Linked DNA regions of Homo sapiens: region 2 is linked to region 1. Evidence: promoter capture Hi-C in 16 types of primary human blood cells and fetal thymus (Javierre and others, 2016). All regions are on one chromosome and are shown on one strand. The core of a region is centred on a gene start or on the middle of the fragment in contact, and the rest is flanking DNA. Distances in the headings are between cores, read along the strand shown.

Evidence for each region. The method cuts DNA at HindIII sites, captures the fragments that hold promoters and counts their contacts. A CHiCAGO score of 5 or more calls a contact.
Region 2: a fragment that was not itself captured here is called in contact with the fragment with the promoter of COPA in region 1 in 6 of 17 cell types (naive B cells, total B cells, fetal thymus and 3 more); the score reaches 11.9 in naive B cells.

Annotation. Positions count from the first base shown.
Region 1 is chr1:160,341,526-160,348,454 of GRCh38, reverse strand. It overlaps COPA (coat protein complex I subunit alpha), which reads left to right and starts at 5,205. Exons shown (of 33, transcript NM_004371.4): 1 at 5,205-5,324. The coding sequence starts at 5,285. It overlaps NCSTN (nicastrin), which reads right to left and starts at 5,072. Exons shown (of 17, transcript NM_015331.3): 1 at 4,974-5,072; 2 at 3,629-3,733. The coding sequence starts at 5,058. RefSeq lists enhancers at 1,588-1,637, 5,003-5,052, 4,325-5,272. The HindIII fragment of the contact is 9,711 bases long and covers 3,439-6,929 here.
Region 2 is chr1:160,625,447-160,632,874 of GRCh38, reverse strand. The region is part of intron 3 of SLAMF1 (signaling lymphocytic activation molecule family member 1); the gene reads left to right. Among named protein-coding and RNA genes, the nearest start is that of SLAMF1, 18 kb to the left of the region's middle. RefSeq lists enhancers at 3,126-3,215, 5,526-5,575. The HindIII fragment of the contact is 6,126 bases long and covers 325-6,450 here.

The sequences.
Region 1 (6,929 bases), core at 3,956-6,455:
CCTCGAATGGATCAGAGATGTGCTCTCATTGGTTCTCCTCATTCCAGGAAACCTAGGGTTTCCAAAGTCACCTCCAGCCAGGAGCCTACTTATCATTTACCCCAGGATGCCCTGAAAATATCACCCATTTCTCTATGTGCCAGGATGCTATACAAATAACATTTTCTATGTGTCTCATGACATGATAAAGATTGGGAAGCACTGTATTAGAGGATGGATGACCCAGAGTCCAGAATACTTTGAATTCTACATAATTCAAGGCATTAGGTAATACTCCTTAAGTCCCCAGTGATCTGTGTGGAGATATCCTAGGGTCTCCCTGTGAGTCTTCTCCCTACAGAAAATTGGATATGTTATTCATCAATTATTTTAGACCAGTAGTTCTCAGCCCTGGCTGTATATCAGCATCACTTTAAATGCCCACTCAGCCTCCCAAAGTGCTAGGGTTACAGGAGTGAGCCACCATGCCCGGCCCTTGCCACAGCATTTAAAACATGGGAAAAGGAACAGATAGTGTGGCAACTAAAACATATATAACTTCGGCCGGGCACAGTGGCTCATGCCTGTAATCCCAGTACTTTGGGAGGCCGAAGTGGGTGGGTGGATCACTTGAGGTCAGGAGTTTGAGACCAGCCTGGCCAACATGGCGAAACCCCATCTCTACTAAAAATACAAAAATTAGCCAAGTGTGATGGTGCACACCTGTAATGCTAGCTACTCAGAAGGCTGAGGCAGGAGAATTGCTTGAACCTGGGAGGCGGAGGCTGCAGTGAGCTGAGATTGTGCCACAGCACTCCAGCCTGGGTGACATAGTGAGACTCTGACACACACACACACACACCCCAAAACTTCAACTCCAGCGAGGACAGGAAGACAAACTATGATACTGGACTGAAAAAAACCTGGATTCTAATCTGGGTTCCAACTAGTAATGGTGTAGTCTTAAGTAACTTGCTTATTTTCTCTGCGCCTTCAATGAGGTTTTCTACCTCTATTCATCTCATACTGTGGGGACAGACGAAAGAAGGAAGAAAGGATAGAAGGAGGGAGGGAGGGAAAAGAAACCTATTTAAAGCCCCCTTTGAGAACTTTAAAGCGTCTAAGAGAAGCAGAGTATTATAATCAGAAATCAAATCTGGGTATCACTTTTTTCTCCTTAGTTTTATCATGTTAGCTACACTAATTAAAAAGGGCGGAGCCTGCTCAGAAAAGACAGATATGACGAAGTAAGATTTGGAAATAAGTAGGTTGAAAAGGAACCAAGATCTTAATGAGGAAGTGGCCACAGTCCCGCTTACCCCCTCTTGTTTCTCTGTACTGGCACGTGGCTTTACCTCTAGAGGCTTTGCTTCCTACAGAGCTGTTTTAAGAACATAGAGTAGAATGACTTATTCCCAAAGGAGTTTTCTTAGAGCCTAGTTACAAGAGGTTGGGGTCCTGGCCTTCTGTACTTTATAGTGAGGTTCCAGCAAGACCAGCAGTCTGATCTCAGCCCACCCTGGACCTAGCTCTCTTCTACCTACAAACCAGTTCAGAAACTAAGTCCAGAGGGCTGGGCATGGTGGCTCATGCCTGTAATCCCAGCACTTTGGGAGGCCAAGGCGGGCAGATCACGAGGTCAGGGGTTCGAGACCAGCCTGGCCAACATGGTGAAGCCCCGCCTCTACTAAAGATACAAAAAATTAGCTGGGCACGGTGGCACGCGCCTGTAATCCCAGCTATTCAAGAAGCTGAGACAGGAGAATTGCTTTAACCTGGGAGGAGGAAGTTGCAGTGAGCTGAGATTGTGCCATTGCACTCCAGCCTGGGCGAGAGGGCGAGACTGCATCTCAAAAAAAAAAAAAAGAAACTAAGTACAACAAAAACTTTATTTGGGGCTGTTTGGAACCAGTCAACCTACTCCCAGTGCTTTGTATAGCAGGGACATGGGACAATTAACAGATACTATAGCTCAGGGAAAGATGGCTAAAAAAGTAGTAACTGCTTCCACGAACAAGTCCTTCACTTCTCAGTGTCCCAGTTTTCTCTTATCAAATGGGAAGAAGGCTTCAGGAAATTATACAGCACTTTTGAGACCACCCTATTTACCTAGCGTCATCAATAAACAACTATTAAGAGGTATTTGACTTTCAGCTTTATGCAAGTACTCCAACCATTATTCCAGGGGTAAACTGAAATTCAGAGGTGATCAATTTGATGATGAAGAAGCCAGTATCAGACCCCAAGTTTCCTGCTTATCTGCAAAACTACATTCTGACAGAGCTATTGTCCATGGGAAACAAAATCTGAAGACAGCAGGTTAGCCTTTAGATTACTACTTTTCCTGCCCTATGATTTTGATAGTTTTTAAAGCCACAGTGTCATGGAACCTTCTTTTGGAACACACAAAGTGTGAAAATAAACGGCCTGTCAGTTGAATTTAAGGAAAAAAAGTTTTAAAAAAGGATAAATAGAATGCTTCACTAATTCCTCTTGCAATTATTCAGCATTTTCTTTTTTTTTTTTTTTTTTTTTTTCAGACAGTGTCTCACTCTGTCACCTATACTGGAGTATGGTGGCACAATCTCAGCTCACTGCAACCTCCGCCTCCTGGGCTCAAGGGATTCTTCTGCTTCCGCCTCCCGAGAAGCTAGGACTACAGGCATGCCATAGCAGCCAGCCGGCTAATTTTTGTATTTTTAGTAGAGATGGGGGGGTTTCACCATGCTGGCAGATTGGTCTCAAACTCCTGACCTCAAGTGATCCACCCGCCTTGACCTCCTGAAGTGCTGGGATTACAGGCATGTGCCACTGCGCCCAGCCTATTTGGCATTTTCAGTGCCTTCTCTTCAGATAGTTCATTGCCTTTAGCCCATTTTGGTTCCAAAAAGTTCAGAGTGCAAGTGATAACTGGACACCATAGAATATGAGACTTTTTTCTCCTTAAAAAACAGTATAATAGGGTGGTTAAGAGTGCTGGCTCGGCTGGGTGCGGTGGCTCACGCCTGTAATCCCAGCATTTTGGGAGGCCAAGGTGGGTGGATCACTTGAGGTCAAGAGTTCGAGACCAGCCTGGCCAACATGGTGAAACACCATCTCTACTAAAAATACAAAAATTAGCTGGGCATGGTGGCAGGTGCATGTAATCCCAGCTACTCAAGAGGCTGAGGCAGGAGAATCACTTGAACCTAGAAGGCAGAGGTCACCGTGAGCCGAGATCGTGCCATTGCACTCCAGCCTGGGGGACAAGAGTGAAACTCCGTGTCAAAAAAAAAAGGTCTCTCAGCTTAGTGCTCGGGCCACCAGATCCTGGCATCATCACTTATTACCAGTATGATCTTGGGAAAGTTACTCAACTTCTTTAAGTTTTAGTTTCATCATTTATAAAGTGACAATAACAGTAAGACCTATTTTGTGGGGTTGTGGTTGGGGTTGTATGAGATGCACATGTAAAAAGCTTGGTATGCAGCATTTACTAAATGTTAGTTCTTATTAATTATCTTGCCTAGCTTGACAGACGGTTATCTGTAACTGCCTACATACAGTCCAATATAAGTGTCAAATCTCCTAAGCAGGACATGGATGTTACTTAGTATCTAGGGCACAGACAAATATCAATGTCCACAAACATGAATCCATCTCAACTCACACTGGCAGCCAATCTGATGAGTGGCGTTGAGCAGGCGAACACAGGGAGCTGTTTTATTTAAGGGGATATATATCTTCCTCTCCACTGAGTTTCCCCTGCACAAACCTGATCGGAAGATAAAAAGTGTTAGAAAAATTTGAGAGACACAGGTACTAGCTTCTATCGTGTCATTAACCTGAAGTATGGCTTGGGTAAATCATTTAATATCATACTTTCTAAAATGAGATTAAAGTCCATTCTTCTGATTTCTTGGGCACACACTTATCGTAACAGATACATGTTCTACATGGCACCCAGCTATGTGCCTCAAAGGGTTATTACAAAGTCCATGTAGCGCCATTGACAGTGACACTAAAAGAGAGAAAACTTGGTCAAAGGAAAGGTGTTTGACCTTAGATTTGCCAGATTCTGGTTGCACAGGTGATCACACTTCTGCTTGTATATCCTGTATGTATATTACTAATTGGTTAATACACAGGTGCTGGGCTAAGAAAACTTTCTGAGGCATTTTTCCAAGAGTGTGAACAGAATTGAGAGAAACCTTATGACATACACGGGTCAGTTAATTTAACATCAGCAGGTCATTTGTGTGCCCACAGTGTGGGGCAGCTGTAGTTTCTCCTTTGAGGATCCTTAAAAACAATGTGAATTGGGGGAAGGCACAGTCATAGTTATATACAGGCATTTGCATTTTAGGGCTTGACCAACTAAAAAGCCATGTATCAGTAAATGAACGCGTATCAGCAAACACTTAAGTACATTATAAATGCCAAAAGTTCCTTGAATTGTTACTTCAGGGTCTTCACAGTTAAGAGTACCCATATCCTACCTTATTCTTGCTTTACTGATTAAAAAAAAAAAAAAAAAAAAAACCTGAGGCAAGGCAGGGGGACACAGACTTAGGATGTAATCAACAGAGGAAGAAATAAGAAATCCACCTTTTAAGCGCCGCACAGCACCCACAGAACAAGATTGCTTTCGTCTCAAAAAGTCTAAACGCGAGGAAGAAAGCTAACTTTCACACCTGTTCCTTTCGACTGTGGGGTGGGTGGCTGGGGTTGTGGGAAAAACGAGACATCTGGACAAAGTGGGAGAGGGTCAGGCTCGAAGTCCAGGAAGAGGCCTAGAGAAGGGAGTGAAGCGACACGACGTGCTGCGGGGGAGAAGGGACCTTCAGGTCCAGGCAAAGGGGGAACTTCTGTCGTGGGAACGAAAAAGAAAGAGGATTTACAGGGTGGGGGGACAGAGGGGCAGCAGGAACCAGAAGGGAGACAGTGGCGGTCGCGGCGGGGCCGATCCGAGAGTTCCCCTTAGAGAACGGAGCTCACGGGCGGGGAGGCCTCACCTGCTAGTAGGACGCAGAAAGACAGAAGGCGAAGGAGACCCCGACTTCCCGGGTCAGCCCCAGAGCCACCCCCTGCCGTAGCCATCTTGCCTCTCTGCTGAGCGGAAGCCCCCGTTCGGCTCCTGTCTGTTAGCGGCCTCTCTAGGCTACCACTGACACCGTCTCTGTGGCCCGGAGCCTAAGAGACCGGAAGTTCGTGTTTCCAGGCGCTTCCGGAAACCGCGGGAGAGGGTCGCTGACGTGGAGGCGTCCGAAGGGCAGCAGGGTGTGTCGGGGCTCGGATTAAGACATCGGAGTCGGAGACCTGAGAGATGTTAACCAAATTCGAGACCAAGAGCGCGCGGGTCAAAGGTAGTGGAGAATAAAAGGGGGAACATGGAGGTTGGATGTCAGGAGCGGCGCTGACACCGGGGAAGAGAAAATGGGTAGAGGTGTTGGTCGAAATGGGCCCACCAGACGGACCCGGAGGAAGACGGAGGGTGGGAGAGAGGTTGGGCCTGGCTAGCGGTTCTCCAGTCCCCTCTTCTTTGGTGTGTCCTTGGGCTTCGATTTACCTATAAAGTGGCTCCCACACTGCAGGGGATTCCTTAGACCCCCTCCCTATTCTTTCTTCCCCCTTTCTCTCTTGGCTGTGCTCCCGATTTGTGTTGTTCTGCTCCAAAGGCCCTGTGATCTGTTGGCTTTTTGATGACTGTGTTATATGGAGTGGCCCTGGGAACTGAGTCTCGATCTCTGTTACTCGCACCCGAGTCAGTAGCCTTTTTGGAGACGAGTAGTGGCAACCTCACTTAAGGAGGCCTTGGCTGCAGCATCTCAACATCAGTGCCTCCATTCGGCTTTATTTACTACCCGGAAATAGTACTTGAGGCTTATAACCCCAATAAAGTCTCAACTTGATAGAGTTGCCAGATAAAATGCAGGATACCCAGTTAAATTTGAATTTCAGGTAAACAATGAATAGTTTTTTAGTCTGTCGTTGCTTACCAGAAGTTCAAATTTATCTGGAAATCTCGTATTTTTATTTGCTAAGTACGGCAGCTCTAGAGCTCGAGTGTGGGTCGTTGGGGGTGGAGGGCAAATACTGAGATCGCAGTATTAGCCTCAGAACGTTAGAATGTGAAAGTCAGAGAAGTAAGGTCTCCGAAGACCTGGAAAAAATAGTATCTAGAATATTTAGTGAGATGCAGCGTAACAAAGTGGTTAGGAACTTGGTCTTTGAAGTCAGATGGGCTTGCCTTGGAATCCTGAGACATCCACTAACAAGCTGTGACTTGGATGACTTACTTAATGTCTCTAAGTCTGTATTTCCTCATCTGTAAAATCGTCTTTTATAGAGAGTATTAAAATGAGAAAGTATATGGAGTGTATTTATTACAGCGCCTGGTGTAGACTCAGTAGCTCAAAAACTGGAGGTTGTTATCAATGTGTGAATATATTCTGAGCAGTTTCTAAGTCTCTTGGGAAACTTGACCTTGAAAGATGGGTACCATTAAGAATTTCTGAGACCTGTATAGGTGAAATGTGAAATGGGTCTTCATAATCTTTCAGTTTTCTTTTCTGCTCCTAATTTCTTGCTGGGCAGTACAGAAGGAAAAACAAAGATGTCATAATATTTGAGGGCAAACATCCATTGTTGAGTGTACTTATATATCATAATTAAAAAAAAGAACCTAATGGAAAAATAGACAATTTAGAAGAAAAATTGTAAATGTTCAATAAATAATTAAAATAGTTCCACCTCACTAGTAATGAAAGAAATGCAAGAAAAAAAAAGTTAAGTTACTTTTTTGGGGGGAGGGTCTTAGATTTATAAAACAAAACAACAAATAGCTGATAGCAGCCTGTGTGCAAAATGGGCACCTCCATAAACTTCATGAGACTGTATATTGATACAGTGTTTTTACATTTAAACTATATGTACTAAAATGTTAAGTGCACATATTCTATTCCTGAGCA
Region 2 (7,428 bases), core at 2,138-4,637, 290 kb before region 1:
CTTTCTGATTCTGGAAGCCTCATAGGCATTAGTGAAAGAGATAAAGCACTTAAAATGCCTTATAAACCATAATAAAAATGTAATTTTTATTATAAAAGCTACAAAAATATAATGTATTTTTTAATTGTAAATGAGGAAGCAGTAGCCCTTACCTCAGCACAGCCCTCTCTGGGTATAGCTGCCCTATTAGAGTACAAAAACAGGGCACTGAATATTTTACCCTGGCCTAACCCAAAAAAGGGGCAGAACTTTCTTCATGCTCCTCAATGTAGTTTAAAAAGAATTTAATTAGGGCATACCAAAGTGTTGGTGGGCCATAAAGCTTATACTAAGGGCACTCAGCTCAGGACGTTCTAAGAAAACATGTGAAGATGGACTTACCCATCTAAGCCACTCTGAGGACCAAGAATGCACCAGTGGGAACCAGATTTACTGAGTAGGAAGCTGGTTCTTGTGAGGAGTGGAGGGACAGGAAGCAGTAGAAACCTGGCACCACAGGAAGGGCCCTGTCAGGATCTCGGCTCGGTTTGTAAGAGAACTGTCCAGCCGTTCCCCTCTCTTGGGTCTCTGTTTCATCCCCAGTAAAATGAAAAGGGCGAACAAATGAAGTCCCTCCCAGAGTAGACAGTCCTTGATTCAGTGTGTGTGTGTGTCAATAAGAACTGCCAATAGAGGCTTGCCACTGTGTATGAGTTTGCTAAGGCTGCTGTAACAAAGGACCACACACTGAGTGGCTTAAACAATCAAAATGTATTGGCTCTCAGTTCTGGAGGCTAGAAGTCTAAAGTCAAGGTGTCAGCAGGATTGTTCTTCTCTGAGGGCTGTCAGAGAAGGATCTCTCCCAGGCGCCTCTCCCTGGCTTGTAAATGGCTGTCTTCTCCTTGTCTCTTCATATCATCTTCTCTCTATGTGTATTTCTGTGTCCAAATTTCCTCTTCTCATAAGGACAACAGTCATATTGGATTAGGGCCCACCTGTCTCAGTTTGCTAGGGCTGCCATAATAAAGTACAACAGATTGGGTGGTTTAAATAACAGAAATTTATTTTTCTCCTGGTTCTGGAGGCTAGAAGTTTGAGGTCAAGGTGTTGGCAGGTTTGGTGTCTTCTGAGGCCTCTCGCCTTAGCTTGCATATGGCTACCTTCTCACTGTGTTCTCACCTGGTCTTTCCTTCGTGTACTCACACCCTGATCTCTCTCTCTCTCTCTTTCTCTTTCCTGGTGTCTCTTTGTGTGTCCAGATTTCCTCTTCTTATAAGGACACCAGTTAGGTTAGATTAGGGGCCACCCTAATGACCTCATTTTAACTTAATAACCTTTAAAGACCTTGCCTCCAAATACGGTCATATTCTGAGGTCCTTGGGGTTAGAGCTTCAACATAGAAATTTGGGGGAGGGGAGACAAAATTCAGCCCAAAACATCTCCCTAATGACCTCAGTTTTACTCAATTAACTCTGTGAAGACGCTATGTCCAAATAAGGAAATCAACATATGAATTTGGGAAAACACAATTCAACATGTAATAAAAGTAGAGATGCCTCCTCCCCACCCTGCCAGCCTGCAGGGATAGGGGACCAGACCTTCCCTGCCTCAGAACCAGATCACACAGCTGGTTTGTGGCCTGCCCTGCGCAGTATACCAGATTGCCTAAATACTGAAAACAGAATTGTATCAGTACCTTGATTTGTGTTTGCGCATGAATAACGAATACTACCAGTTCTTAAAACACTGCACTTAGTTTGACAAAACATTTACACTCTACATTGTGCTAGGGGCCAGTACACAAAGATAAAAAAGACATGATCCTTGCCTTAAGGCAGAAGACAGCTGTATAAGTAAACAATGATCCGAGATTAGACAGTGTGACGGATGTAAAATGGAAATATATGCAAGGCAACAAACAGGAGGGAATTATTAACACTGTCTCGGGGGATTAGAGAGAGCATCCCAGAGAATGTGACATAAACTGGGTTTTAAAAATAAGTAGAAATTACCCAAGCTGATGAAAGACATTCCAGGCAGAGGGAGGAGCAGATACAGCTGGGTCTTGCTCTGTATTATCTTGTAGGTGATAGGAACTAATAAAGAGTTTTAGATAGAGGAGTGACACCATCAGTCTTGCTTTTCAAAGAGGAACTCCAGTAGTATAGAGAACAGACTGGGGCAGGGAAGTGGGGAAGAAAGAGAAACCAGTTCCTGGGGGCCATTATTGCAGTCATCCATCAAAATGATGGGACCCGAGCCAAAGCAGCAACTGTCAGTTAACAAAGACATTTTTCCTAGGGCATACAAAGGAAAACCCCAGCCTTGGGATGAAAGGGTGGGGTCCGAGGGTTTATTAGAGGTTGCTTTGCCATCTGTCATCAGGACAGTGATTTTAAGACATTTTTCATTTTCATTAATGAAAACCTCACAGCGGTTAATGGTGTGATGAGACGGAATGCAATGTGATGTGAGCACTGAATCTTGACAGGACTCACTTAAGCGAAACTGTGCAAAAACTTATATGTTCCTTGAAATCTTTTTCTTTAGGTGACATTTGTTCAGGTCATGTATTCATCCTTGTTCCAATTGCCATTTCAGTGTGTTAATGTCTATCATAATGAAGCATCTTTATTGCAAAGTCCAATTCTTAGGGTGCTATGAAGTACTCTGGCTAGGTCATGTGAAGCCAGTGGATGTGGGTCAGCTGTGGACAGTGTGTGACTTGCTGCCATCCTCGATGACTGTATTCTGAAATAGATATGGCTGTGCTAGAATGAAGGAATCTAGAAAGGAATGCCCCTGGAAGCTCATCTTGAAGAGAGGATCTTTTTCAGCAGATCAGCAAACCGCTGGCTCAGCACCTCTGAGTTAGCTCAGTGAAAGAAAAGGCTGACGCCTGCCAGTGAGCTCCGGAGGCTTCCCCTTTCTAACAAGGTCATTTCTTCAAATAGGGAGTTCCCATTGTTTCAGAGTCACTTAGATGTTCCAGGCACTAAGACAGGTCTCTCTCTAGGGTCTTCCCAATTTAGCGAGCGTAAAAACAATGGTGGAAAGGAAAAACCTGGAAACTTTGCACAGCCCAGAGCCTGGTCATGGGCCACACCCGCTATAAGGGAAGCTGAGACACATAGCTCCTAGCTGAGCAGCTACATGCCCAGAAAAGACTCGTATTACCACGAAAGCATGAGCGCAATCTCACTGGAGCTAGTAGCCTCTGCAATGCTGGGTGGGATAGGCAGGTTGTAAGTGATTTTTCTGGAAGCTGTGAACTCCGTAAAAATGTTTACTTGGATGGTCCCAGAACTTAAATTAGTATATGGTTCATGAGGATCCTTCCCCACCCCCAGTTCTGAATGGAAACTGCCACGAACAAGAATGTATCTCTTGAAGATGGCAGCCTTTGCTGACAGAACCACATGAAAGGCAGGAAGGAGATCCGGCACGCTCCCACCGTTACGCTAACGTCGCAGTATCTCCTAGGTGAACTGCATTTGTTTCTCAGATTCTTTTTAGTTTTCTTTTTCATCTTCCCTAAAAAAAATATTAATAATAAGATTTTGGGACTTGAGAAGAGAGAGAGAGAGAGAGACACGCTTCTGTGTTTCTGTGACAACACTTTCAGAGACAAGAAAAAAAACGCCCTCTGGCTTTTTCCTTGGATGTGTGACTGTCTGCCAAGTTATCACGTTTAAACCACAGACAATAGGTGGAGAGGGCCCAGGGTGGAGACTCGAGCAAAGCACTCTTCCCAAATGGCATGTGAGTTATTGACCAGCCTGCTCGGCCGCCTCTAAGAGCCTCGGGAGTAGGGGGAGTTCCAAACCTCTGGTTCAGAAATGTTCAGGTAGCATTTCTTTGTGAATGAAGGAGTCAGGAGCTTCTAGACCCCAAGACAACTTTGATTTCTCAGCATCACCATCCAGAGAGGCCTCACTACATGACTGAGCAAAGAGAAGAAGAGCTGGAGCTTCTGCCACAGGAAATGGTGGTTTGAAAATGGGAGCACAGGTGAAGCGCCGATGGCACAGACACACACTTGCCTCCTGGCTCCATCTTGTTATTGTAAAGTATAAGCCAAGTGGGTCACTTCTCCTTCCCTTTGATTCCTGCCTTGGGCCATTCAGCAGGTGACCCTGCATTCCTTCTGGTAATTTTTAAACAGAAAGCTACGTGACAGTCTTTTTCTAGATCCATTTTTGTGGACTCTCATTTAATTTAACTTAGTTCATCGAGTGCATATTGAGTGCCCTCCTGCCCTATATTGTTTCCGGTGGAATGGAGGATACAAATAAAGAATAAGGTACAGGGCCTACCTTCATGGAATTTGCAATCAAAGTGGGACTTCTACATCTTACTAGCTAGAAAAATATAATATTTAAAGAAACATATTATAATCAAGGAACTGCTACTAGAATTCCTCTTTGAAAAGGAATTGTATTTGTTTATGATAGTACCTTAATAAATGCTAGAAGGCAGGTGGAGACCCCCCAGGAATCTGGGTGTGGGTTGGATGGTTCTGTATGAGAATGGAGGAAGATGATACTTGTGCAGAAATGGGAAGAGAAAGAGAGAGTCTGAACCTGCTAGGTGGTGAAAGCTGCCTGGTTCACAATGGAATTTGCTCCCTGGGACCCTTCAATCTTCAGCAGAGAACTTAAACCCACAAAATTATTGGTGTAAGTTTTTAAAAAAAAGTTTTTTTGGTTTGTTTGTGGAAACTGATTGTATTAGTCCGCTCTCATCCTGCCAATAAAGACATACCTGAGACTGGGTGATTTATAAAGGAAAGAGGTTTAATTGGCTCATAGTTCCACATGGCTGGAGAGGCCTCACAATCATGGTTGAAGGCGAATGAGGAGCAAAATCATGTCTTACGTGGCAGCAGGCAAGAGAGTTTGTGCAGGGGAGCTCCCATTTATAAAACCATCAGATCTTGTGAGACTTATTCACTCCCATGAGAACAACATGGGGGAAACCACCCCATGATTCAATTATCTCCACCTGGCCCCACCCTTGACACATGGGGATTATTACAATTCAAGGTGAGATTTGGGTGGGGGCGTGGCCAAACCATATCACTGATGAAGTGACTAAACCTTGCACCCAAGGAAGCACAGAGTAGAGCAAGCAGAGTTATAGGAGCAAAGACTTAGAGAACCATGAGGAAATTACTCCCAGAAATTACAGAAATCATGTGCAGCTTGACCTGAACAAACTGTAATAGTAGCACTTTTTTCATACTTATCCAAATTTCTAAGAGCATGGGGTCTCTGACATTTGATTTCCATGTAAATATAATTAAAGAATAGCAACAAATGGATGAGCACCAAGTATAAAAATACTTGGGCCTACTATACAGGTAGGGAAACTAAGCCATAAGTAAAGAACAGATGGGACTGAAGCATCTCTGGACACTGGTGAAGAGACTCCTTTGGACTTAAGATCAAACTCATTTTCTTGTCTTTCCAATCAATCAACAAGAATTTACTGAGACTCTATTATGTACTGAGTACTAAGAGAGCTGTTAAAGTAGTGTAAGAGATGGTCTCTGGCCTCCTAGAACCTAGCAACTATTTGGAGAATTGAGGCTAGCAGAAGTAATTGACACTTACTGACCACATGATGGATTCCAGATATTGCTCTAGGCACTTTCCATACATTACTATATGGGTTTCTCAGAACAACACTGTGAACTTATTGTTATGCTCATTTTACAGATGAGGAAGTTGAAGCCACAGAGGGTATGAGTAGCTTATCTGTAGTCACAGAGCTATCAAGTGGTAGACCCAGAATTTGAACTTATCTATCTGGCTCCAAATACCATCACTGAAAATGGTCTGCATGGTAAAGATGATGTTGCCAAAACTCAGGTTCTAAGATACATGACATAAACCACAGGTGCTGCAGGAGTCCAAGGGACAGGGAAGAACAAGAGCTGGGATGGTCAGGAAAGGTGACACAAAGAAAGGAAGATTGGCCTGGGCATCAAGGCTAGGCAGGCATGGTGGACAGCTTAGGGTGCAGCAGGAAGGAGAGTATGGAGTGGAGCCTGGGGCCAGGAATGAGCATGTGTTGGATGGAGGATGATGAAGGATGGGTTGGCTGCTCAGAGGGCTTTTGACTCAAAAGGTTTGAGTCAAAAGGGCTTTGACATCACTACTGCCTTCTTTATGGGGACCGCATCTCCAGAGGCTAAAGCACAAACCACAAAATCTGCAGTTCCCATCTTATCCAGCTCTGCCACTGACTTTTTCTATGACTCTGGATACTCCTGTCTGTGTCTCAGTGTCCTCAAAATAAAATTAGTGGGTTGGGTGAAATAAGCACTATACTATAGTTCCCTTAAGGTTAAAAAGGTCTATGATTCATATTTGTATCCAAAGATGAGGAAAAAAATTAGAGTTTATGAAATATCTTTCAGGACCATGGCCAACTTGTCTCTCAGATCTAGATGGACTGGCAGAAGCTTGTCATAGGACAAAGGTAGCAGATTGCTTTCATCCTCTAGAGACCCTAGAAAAGATAGAGAGGGCCGGCGTTGTCATGTCCTGAAGCCTTGGTGCTGCACCCAGTCATCGTTAGTTTCTGTGAGTTGGTGGGCAGCAGAGCAACCGGCGTCGGGCGCGAGGGAGAGGAGGCTGACTCACCAGGCATTACTGGTGCAGTTTTGTCTTTTATTTTCCAGTTCAGAGGTACTACTTTGTCTGTTGGTTTTATTTTTTTAATCTCAAGTGAAATTGGAAAGAAATATTATCTTTTAAAATGATATAAATGGTGGGGGTGTTTCTTCTCAAATCAGTTGTTGTATTGGAAGTTCCCAAAGTATCTATGATAGAAGAAGAAAGAGGAACTAGTCAAAATAGTAAGTGCTACTATAATGGTTTGCTGGATCAGTTCCATAGGCTGACGAAACACAAAGTTCAGGCTACTGGCTTTGCTTCTTATCCTAGTATTAGAGTGATTTCTCCAGTGGTTCCTAGTGTCGATATCATAAACCTTGAATGAATCAATCTGTCTCAAACACACACATACACACATACACACACACACACACACACACACACACACTCCTGCACAGAGGGTTCTCAGTGACCATAAGTCACTCAGAGTGGAGCTGCTCCTTCCTCCAGCATCAGCAATGATTCAAAATGTCATGCTTTATACAAATTCAGAACTCTCTGCCTGCCTCCTAACTTTTTTTTTTAATCAGAGCATAAGACTGTTGAAGTTGGTATCTGGCAAAATTAAAACATTTAATTTAGGGGATAGAACCTATAACCAAGGTGTTTGCAAAGTCAGTTCAGTGAGATTCCTTGGGCTAACTTGATGTGTGAAAGGCCTAAGGAGAAAAAGAATCTTTTCAAATCCAGAAGGCAACTTCTTGCCAGCTATCAGGCTGGAGGCCCCTTTGGATCTTGTAGGCTGCATTTTATGAATTCATTGAGA